2 separate regions of the Homo sapiens genome follow, and region 2 is linked to region 1. The links are contacts of gene promoters, found by promoter capture Hi-C in human tissues and cell types (Jung and others, 2019). All regions are on one chromosome and are shown on one strand. Each heading gives the region's core, a stretch centred on a gene start or on the middle of the fragment in contact. The rest is flanking DNA. Distances are from core to core; before and after follow the strand shown.

What was found. The method cuts DNA at HindIII sites, captures the fragments that hold promoters and counts their contacts. A contact is called where the count stands out against the background at its distance.
Region 2: a contact is called between a fragment that was not itself captured here and the fragment with the promoter of AAGAB in region 1, in 1 of the 25 tissues and cell types used here (IMR-90 fibroblasts).

The regions. Positions count from the first base shown.
Region 1 is chr15:67,251,741-67,256,916 of GRCh38, reverse strand. It overlaps AAGAB (alpha and gamma adaptin binding protein), which reads left to right and starts at 2,256. Exons shown (of 10, transcript NM_024666.5): 1 at 2,256-2,358. The coding sequence starts at 2,286. It overlaps IQCH (IQ motif containing H), which reads right to left and starts at 2,131. Exons shown (of 21, transcript NM_001031715.3): 1 at 1,970-2,131. The coding sequence starts at 2,020. RefSeq lists an enhancer at 2,196-2,515. The HindIII fragment of the contact is 6,332 bases long and covers 1-5,176 here.
Region 2 is chr15:67,769,112-67,773,799 of GRCh38, reverse strand. It overlaps MAP2K5 (mitogen-activated protein kinase kinase 5), which reads right to left. Exons shown (of 22, transcript NM_145160.3): 20 at 4,137-4,198; 21 at 1,048-1,093. Among named protein-coding and RNA genes, the nearest start is that of SKOR1, 54 kb to the left of the region's middle. RefSeq lists an enhancer at 2,018-2,293. The HindIII fragment of the contact is 6,173 bases long and covers 1-4,688 here.

The DNA.
Region 1 (5,176 bases), core at 1,007-3,506:
CATATTCTACATGTAGAGAATAGAATTTTATACTATACAGGAATCAGTCTTAATAATCTGGTTAACAGGTAGGCTCTCTTCCTCTACACAGCCCTTTACTTGATATGTCCACAGGAATCCTTTTAAATAAGTAGGGGTGCAGATCAACATGGATATGACTATTAGCTCTTCTGACCCATCTCACAAGTCAGTGTCAACAGTTATCTATTACTATAATGTTGTATCCTAGGTAAGAGTCTCCATTATTGTTCTAATTATTTGGAATCTATAAAAAGAGTGGGTATGTGCAGCAAAGAATTAACCTTACCCAAAGAGGGGTCCAGTCTTCGCTCCTGGCTACTGGGAGGTGATCTCTAGGCGCCTGGGATGTCCTGCCTGATAGAAGTGTCTTTGTCTGTGGGCTTTGGCCACCAGACAGTCTATCAACATGATTTATAATGGGTGTTTTGATCCACGCTGTATCAGCTCAGACCTCTGGAGCAGCGGGAAACTAAAAGTATTCAGGAGGGGCTGGAGATTAATGGTCAACCACAAGGGCAGTGTGAGATTGAGCCCCAGTAAAAACTCTGGACATCAAAGCCTCAGATAAGCTTCTCTAGTTGCAATATTCTATGCATATTGTCACATATCATGGCTGGGAGGAAGTAATGCAGGTAATGACGTCAATGACTCCACAGGGATAAGATGACCAAAAGCTCTATGTTTGTACCCCTCCTGGACTCTGTCCTATTCATCTCTTTCCTTGGCTGATTAATTTGTATGCCTTCACTATAATAAAATTGGAGATGTGAGCACAGCACTTCCCTGAGCTCTGCGAATAGTTCTAGTGAATCATTGAATGTGAGGGTGGTGATGGGGCCCCTAAGTTTGTACCCAGCTGGTCTGAAGTGAGGTGGTTCTGGGGACCCCTGAACTTGCAGGTAGTGAGTGTTGAAGTTAGGGCAGTTTTTTGTGGACCGTTCCCTCAGACTTCGCAGTTTGGCTAAACTCATTGCTGCGTGATGGTGAAAGTGAGGGTGAGAAAAGATCAGGTAAGATTAGGTATGATTCTTAATGGGGAAGTCTATGAAATTGGTGAGTTCAGGGGCTTGTATTTGGGAAAAGGTACATTTAGGGAAGTCTCTCCTAGATGGGAGGTAAGAGATCAAAATTCTGCCAGAAAAATTAGATCCCTTTGACGAGTAAGACCCACTTCAGACCAACTGAGTGACAGTCCTGACAGAGTGACCTTAGACAAATGACTTCAAGACTTAGTCAAATGCAGCTATTATATATGTGATAGTTAAAACCGATGATATATGTGGAAATATCTTAAAGTTACCTCACATAAATGTGAAAACAAAATGCCATGATCATTTCAGAAACATCTGAGTGCAACTATTACAAATTGAGCTGTATTGGACAAGACTTTCTTGACATTTCCCCTCTCAAATTAAAAAGGTCTTTCACTAAGTTTTTAAATGTCACATTTTTTCATTCCAAGTTATCTTGATTTTTCTGTGTGTTCTCCAATGAGGAACATTTAGATCTAAAAAACTGGGGTGTTTAAGAAAAGCAATTCACATATTTCAATTTGTCTCCAAATTTCTTATCACCTCCTAGAGTGTCCGATTTGTCTCTCCTCCACTCCCGACGTCATGGGTTCAAATTTTTCAGAATATAACATTTAAAAATGATGCCTCAGCGTGAGGTTAATTTTTCTGAAGTAAAGGTTCCGGGTGAACGGTTTTAGAGTTTTCCCAGAGGCAGAAAGTCCTGCTTCTGGGGCGTAACCTACAGGGTAAGTCACCGGGAGTGTGCTGGGCCGTGGGGGAAGGTCTGGGTGGGCATTTTTGGGAGCCTCTCGCGAGTTGGAGGGAGTCTAGGGGCGGCGCACCAAATGGGTGAGCGTCGGTGAATCGGCGCGCGGGACCTCGCTCGGAAGTGGCGCGGCTGGGCAGGGCAGGGCCGGGGGAAGCCCGTTTCCCACCTGGATTAAGATGGATCCGACAGGGTCGTGGTTTTCAGTGTTCTGTGCCATGGCTAGGTCAGGGAACGGCTACCTCCGCGGAGGCGCGGTTTCCAAGCACGGAAACCTTCAGCCGGAGCCGCTCGTCCCCATGGCAACACCGCGCGCGACCTGGCCTGTTCCACGCTGGGAGCGGAAGGGGGTCTAGGGGCGGGGTCAGGCCAGCCTGGTCATTCCGAGAACGCCCTCTCCGGCCTGTCTCCCCCTCGCGCCGGCGGCCGTGGTGCAGCCCAAGGCGGAAGCGGCTGCCTGACGGAACCGGCTCGCGAGCGCAGCTATGGCTGCTGGCGTACCCTGTGCGTTAGTCACCAGCTGCTCCTCCGTCTTCTCAGGAGACCAGCTGGTCCAACGTGAGTAGATAGGCGCCTGGGCCGACCTCCAAGGCCCCTGAGCCTCAGCGGGCGACGGACCCAGCACCACGGCCTCTCTGGGCCTTGTCCCCGCAGCGGGCCCTGCGTTCTTCCTCCAGTCAGTGGAGGCGCCCAGTCTCCCCAGGTGGCTGCCCCTATCTCTTAATCTCGTGCTTTTCTGCCCACTCGGCCTTCTTCGGCGTTCCTTTCGGCTTCCTGTGTAAAGTGAGACTGATTTCCCGCTCTGCTCAGCCCAGGCCACAGGTTTTTGCGAGGATCCGTTGAGATGAACCTGAAGGCTCTCCGGAAATTGCGCTAGGTTACAGGAGTGTAAGGTGCTGGAATTGTTGATATCGTGATGTTGTTATCCTTGCTGCTCCGGGAGAGAGTGTTTACTCTGAATTCTGAAGTTTATTCTGCGTATTTACTCTGAAGTTTATTCTGCTTCTTAATGTGTACATTATAAGACTTGTTAGCTTTGTCCGCTCCACTCTAGTTATTCACGCCTTTCATCTGAGGCATGGGCTCTCCGCCAACATGAGTTTTTGGGTATGATTGGGCTAGTGCTTTTGCTTGTAGACCCTCATAATGGCTGTCAGACTTACTAACTCTTAAAAGAGAGAACATGGGACTGGATAATAAGCCAACTCTACTAAAGGGCTCTGTGAAGTTGAATTATAGGTAACTCAAGACTTCTGTTTTAAGTGTATGGCTTAGAATCAGAGCAGTGACTTAGCTGTATGATCTCGAGCAAGTCACCTAACCTACCTACATTCCTTCCTTCTTTTCTTTTTTTTTTTTTAAAGAGACGGGAACTTGCTCTGTCGCCCGGGCTGGAGTGCAGTGATGCGATCATAGCTCACTTCAGCCTCGAACTCCTGGGCTCAAGCGATCCTCCTGCCTCAGTCTCCCGAGCAACTGGGACTGCAGGCTCACACCACGAACCCTGGCTAATTTTTTTATTTTTTGTAGAGCCAGAGTCTTGCTATGTTGCTCAGGCTGGTCTCCAACTCGTGGTTTCAAGTGATCCTCCTGTCTTGGCCGCCCTAAGTGCTGAGATTACAGGCGTGAGCCACTGTGCCTGGCTACCCTTCACTTTCTCTTTTCTCTCCTTTTTTTTATTTTTGTTTTGAGATAGGGTCTCACTCTGCTGCCCAGGCTGTAGTGCAGTGGCGTTATCTCGGCTCACTGCAACCTCTGCCTCCTGGGCTCAAGCCATCCCCCTACCTCAGCCTCCCAAGTATCTGGGACTACAGGTGTGTGCCACCACGCCCGGCTAATTGCCCCCCCCCCCCCCCGTCATACGGGGTTTGGCCATGTTGCCCAGGCTGGTCTGGAACTCCCGGGCTCAAGTGATCTGCCTGCCTTTGCCACCCAAAGTGCTGGGATTACAGGTGTGAGTCACCACCGCGCCCGGCCCCTTCACCTTCTATCTATAAAATAGGGATAATTTTCGCAAGATTGTGCTTATCCCCGAGTCTGGCACATAGTAAACATTTGATAAATCATAGACATTATTATTAAGGCACATTACTATCTCTGTAACCCTCAATTTCCTGATCCTTAAAATGGGGCATATGAGCCTATTTCAGGAGTATTTGAAGGACAGATGATGTGACATTTTGAACACACTTTGTAAACTGTAAAGCATTGTATAATTATAATTTCTTTGCTACACCTGTCAAATGACAGAATTAGGTAAGATGTCCCTTCAGTGCAGATATTATATGACTTAGTTATCATTTGTGATCACTTAGAAAGTTCCTTGCTAGGGTAAAAGCTTAATTATAGCATTTAACTAAGTGGTTACTAACTGGTCTAATTAGGCCATTTTCTTACCTTTAAGCAGTGCTCCTTCCTATTTTCTCCCTTCCCTCCTTTCTTCCTTCTTTTCTTCCTTCCTTCCTCTTTTTTCTTTAATTGTTTCATTGTAAAACTAGTGCATACTAAGTAAAATTTAGCATACAGAGAAAAGAAAATAGCCATAGTCTCATTACCCAACTACAAATACTGCTAACATTTCTTTCCAGTCTTTTTTTCCATTGCAGTTTCTTAAAAAGAAATAATTGTAATTACATTTAATACACAATTTTTTCTGTTTTTAAAAATTTTTTAAATACACAGTTCTTATCCTCAGATTTATCAAAAATTAGTTTCTCACATATATCCATCTAGTGAATAAACCAGAATTTGCTCAAGATTCTTAAAGATGTAACTAACTTTCCAAAAGACTTACATGCATTAGGAATCCTATTAGCGATACATGGAAGTCTTTTCAAGACAATCTCAGGAATATTAATTATTCTAAATGCTATGGTGCTCTGTTGTGTGCTTTAATGATCCCAATCGGCAAACATGGTCCCTGCCTTGAAGTAGCTGATTACCTGTAGTTAGCAAATAGTAACATTGTACTTCTGTAAAGTGTATTAGCATTATTGGGGGTAAAATTAATTCTGTAAAATAATCCATTTTATCTCTGTATATAAAATGCTCTTAGATAATTCCAGTTCGGGTTAAGATCAGATGACCTTTCCATTGCAACTCGTTACTGTCGTGTAGTAAAAAATAAAAGAAGAACAGCTAGTGAGCAGATTACTTGAATAAGGAAAAGTGAACCATAAAAGAGGGCTTATAATTTCTTCCAAGGTTGTGAATAGGGTAGCAGTGGATAGCGTTAAAATGAAGTATTTGCTGAGCATTCATTCTTTGACTATAATTAAAGCTGGGATTAAATTAATCACAGGTTGACTCTAATTTTGAGGTAAGAGATGGAGCCCGCATAATATTTTGTCAAGTGTTCGGTGATATTAGGCCGTGG
Region 2 (4,688 bases), core at 714-3,213, 520 kb before region 1:
AGTTTATTCTAGACATGAAACCTGCAGAGTTATAAATTGCAGAGGTTTTTAGGGGTGATCTTTAACTTGAAACTACCCTGAAAACTGAGATTTTGCTCCAGGGAACATGAAGGAGGAAAGTACCTTCCTGGAAAGCATTCATGATGCAAAAAGGAAACGTACTGTTATTTTATATTCAAGGATGAAATCCATATTATAAAGAAGTTGGGGCACTGAAACTGTTTATTAGGTTGGAATACAAAGGACGAAAACCTCTAAACTGGTATCTGTAAAATGCATATTGTTTAAAGAAGGTGAAAGAAAATTGGTAGGAATTTGCTCTGACTGTAGTAATCTAAAGGCAGGGAATGGTATGCAAAACATTAGAAAGAATAGACTATAATTATTATTTACTAATGCTCGATCCTAACGTTATTCTAACAGCTTGTGCATTGTCAAATCAACAATCTGCACTAAACAAATGACCATTTGGGAATTGTTAGGGAGCATCTCTGTTCCTCTCCCTGCTTGACTAAAAACTGTCATTTGCAATCAAAGAAAGCTGCCTTGGAGCTGAGAACACAGCACTCGCAGCCTTGTAGCTGTCTCTTTCTGAGGAAAGACCAAAGATTCACATTAACTTGATCTTTTGCAGCCAGTTTAATTTCATTCTACATGAATCTAAGAGGACTCCATGCCATATTCAGAAATTTTCTGCAGAATTGCACTAAAAACTTATTGCACTGATGATCTTCTGTTACCAATCCTCTGAATTCTAAAAGGTTTAATAGCAAATGAGGATAAAGAGTAACCTACATTAAGTTTGTGACCCTTGATGAGGCAAATGAAAAGAGCTCTGCATTAACTTTCAAAAAGGTGGTGGGTTTTTAAAAAGTAAACACTATTATCTGAGGATATGAGCTTCAAAAACATCTACCCAAATGAAGTAAATAATGTTGCCTTTTCAGAGCCTATGGCTGTTTCAAATTCCATTCTGGACTTTTAAACAGAATGTTAAACATAAATATATAACTGAGAATTCTAATGTAACTAAAAACATTCACTTACCATCAATTCTTCAGGTGCTGGCCTTTCTTTTGGCTGTTTTCGCATACTATAGTGGAGAGAAAAAAACCCCTTATGTTATCTGTGTCATTTGTATATTTTTGCTATAATTTCTACCAATGGCTATTTGTACTGGAATTTGAATGTTTTCAAAATACATCATGTTCAATTCTTGGCCAAAGTATTAGCATATATTCCCTTTCTTTTATTTTGGTCTTTACTTAGTCAGATTTCTGGGGGACATTATGAGTAAGAAACAAAAAGCTTTTTCTTACTTTTTCACTTAAAAAATATTTTGCAACACAAATAAAGAATGAATTTAAATTAAATGTATCCTAATTCTACTTTTGAAGCGAATGTGAAAAAAGCAGCAATATTCTCTTATTGACTCAATTATCAATTTATTTCAAACTTATATTTAGAGAATATACCTTTTTTTTTGGTAATTGGGATAAGACAGTAAGGAAAGAAACATGACTGTAGAGTCAAATGAGAATACATCTCATTCTTTCACTGTTACTCCGAATGACAAGAAGTATATAAAACAGGTCAGGAATCTAGATAATGCTACAAAATTAGAAGTGTGTTGCTATAGATTATCTTGACTTGCATTTGTTTTGGCAACAAGGCAAGTTGATAATTCATTAAACCGCTGTGGGACAGCTAAATTTGTTTAAGCTGCTTAAAGAATCACATTCTTCATGCAAAATATTTCTTGTCTTCCATGCAATAGATATAATTAGTAGCTGTAACATGTACTTAGCTATGTGATGAAGCACTCACACATGGGATGGAGGTGACTGTGGGCAGCTGCCTACTTGATGGCTGTATTTGTTCTAAACTCAGAGTGTCCATGGGATAGTCATGAAAAGAGATTGCTGCTTCTATCACTTGGAAAAATCACACGGATGCTTTTTTCTTTATAAGGCACTCTTCTAACAAGCAAGAAGAAAACTCTTCTTATAATCTCTGCATTTGCTGACAATACTTTTTTAAAAATAGATTTAATGATCATTTGGTAAACAAGAATCGGAGTTATGAACCATTAATGACATCGAGGACATTTGCCTTCCCTATAAATAACCATATGCACCTCTCAAACACTGCATCCATTAGCAACTAATTCAAGCTGTCTCGCCAGTGGAGTTGGTAACAGTCCTAATCTGACATTCCAAAGTAGCTGTATCTCTTGGGAAAACAAGGCTATTACCCACTATCATTTCTGTTTTGGCTTGACATCTGTGGAAATTTGAATGCAGGTTATCCCTCCCTCTGTCTCCATAAAACTTTTAAATAACAGCTGATTAATTTTTTGGACAGGAGGGAGGTGAAGCCTTATCCACTTTTCTCCCTGCTGCTCAGACCAGCCCCACCCCCAGGTTGGTCTCAGACCACACAGCGAGATAAGATTAGCACTGGGATCCTGTCACAAATCCAACATCTCCTCCGGAGCAGAGAGGGTGATGCCCAAACCAGGCGCTCCAGGCAGTAGAGGAATCGCATGGTTTGTGTTTCAATTTTTGCATTTCAAAATGAGGCATTACCATGTGTAAAACACATGGTACACATTACCATGTGTAAAACACATGGTACACATTACCATGTGTAAAACACATGGTACACATTACCATGTGTTTTAAGAATTCCATGTAAAGGAAATTAAGAGGGATATACATTTCTGGGTAATGGTTCTAACATCATTAAGGAGCTTCAAAACAGCTCAGGATTCCAGTGTTTAATCAACATGTATGCTTTTTTCCGACATGGCATGCTTTGGAAATAAAATGTTTTCAGAGTAAAAATAGTTTTTAAAAGCTACACAATATTATATAAGTATTTTAAATAAATAGAAACAGTGTTAATAAAATTTTTTTAATTGGGGAGAAAAATTTCTTCCTCACATATATTTTCTATGGAATATAAACTGCATGAGACATTTTTATTAAGAGGTAACATGTTACACTTAGTCAAAAAGGTGATAAAGCTTGACATTTATATTAAGGAATATTTCTTGGTTTCCCTTTAGCATAATCATCGGACAGATCATAGTGGGAGGGGAAGGGGATGGCACACAACGATTTTGGTTAGCAAGAATCCTGATAACATTACTTTGCCACACCACAGAACCAAGGGTTTCTTCTGGTAGGGTCTGCCCATTCATTTTCCACCAGTGGACATGACTCTGGACTTTGGTGAAGGAGGGAAAGAAGACCAACGTAGTTAAGAAGGAGTTGCGGTTGGTTTTGTCTCCTGCTTTGAGGACAATGATTCCTATGTTCCTGAATTCCTCCTCTCTCCTAGGTAATTCTCTGTGCTGGAGTGAGGGAGAGGGCAGAGGAATACCTGGGCCTCCCAAGGCCACATGAGTCCTGCAGGACGAGGGAAGAGGGGAATGATGGTGAAAGGGGTAATAAAAGACATCTGCGTTCTGCTAGGAGGAAAAAGGCAGAAGGCTGGCAAAGAACCCTTGGCAGTAAAATGCTTGTTTCTTCAGATATAAAATGACAAGGAATTGCCTAGAGGCTCTGAGGGCCCCTGTGGCTCCTCTCAGTTCTTTAAGGGTTAAAGTGGGCTGAACTGTTTTCATAGTCTTCCAAATGTCAAAATTCATTGAAATGGTACCCCAGTATTGTATTTAAAATACAACCAAAGATAAAAGTTATTTACTGAAAATCCGATGAATTAATAAACTATGCTGCTTCCACTAAGTGACAAGACAGTTTTATGGGTAACTTGAGGTTACATTAATAAAAATAAGCTTCGTACGTCCGTTCAGTAGGGGCTATAAAATTGTGTATTTCTTTTTTTAAAAAAGGATGGCAACAGTATTTGTGCTTAAAGAAGTATCATGACTTTCAGCAGTTTATTAAATCAGGAAAAAGGCTCTGAAGTATGCTTATGACCCTTTGTGTAAATAACGTTTACATAATTTAAACAATTTCTTCAGCTTTGCTGCCCCATCTGCCCAAGGCCCCGAAGTCCCTCCTGTCTCCAAAAGGATGCAGGGAGAGCCATAAGGTCTCACGGAGCTGCCGAGTTAATGGCATGTATCATTTACATTGAGGGCATGGCATGTTTGTAAACGGGCTCACCACTGAGTGATGAAATGTACAAATGGCTCCGAGAACTCTCCAACTGGAAGGACGGGCGAATCCTGTGATGGAGGAAAAACATGTCACCAAAAGTCACAACAGTTCCTTCTCTTTCTTTATATTCCCCACCCACCCATGTGAAGGATGAGTATAAAGATGAATACAATGAGAATAAGGCCTCACCCAATTAAAAAGACTGTCTTTACCTTATTCCACACATTTAGGTAAAGATGCCAAATTTAAAGCCACACATATTTTACAATGGTGAGAAACATGAGAGCTGAGAGAGGGGGAGGTGAAAAAAGGACAATGATAGCCACAGGGTAGGAGAGAAGGTAGGGAAAGTGTAAATGAGAAATTAATGATTATTTAAGTAACACACAAATGGTCTTGTAATTAACAAAGAGCTGTGAAATTATTCTTGTGTTGACCTTTGTTTCTTTTACTGGATTTGCTATTTATTTACACTTTCCTTTTTATTTACATTTATTTGTATATTCAACTGCTCTTTACTGTTTGCCCCTAACAGAATAATTTGGATCAATTTTTTTT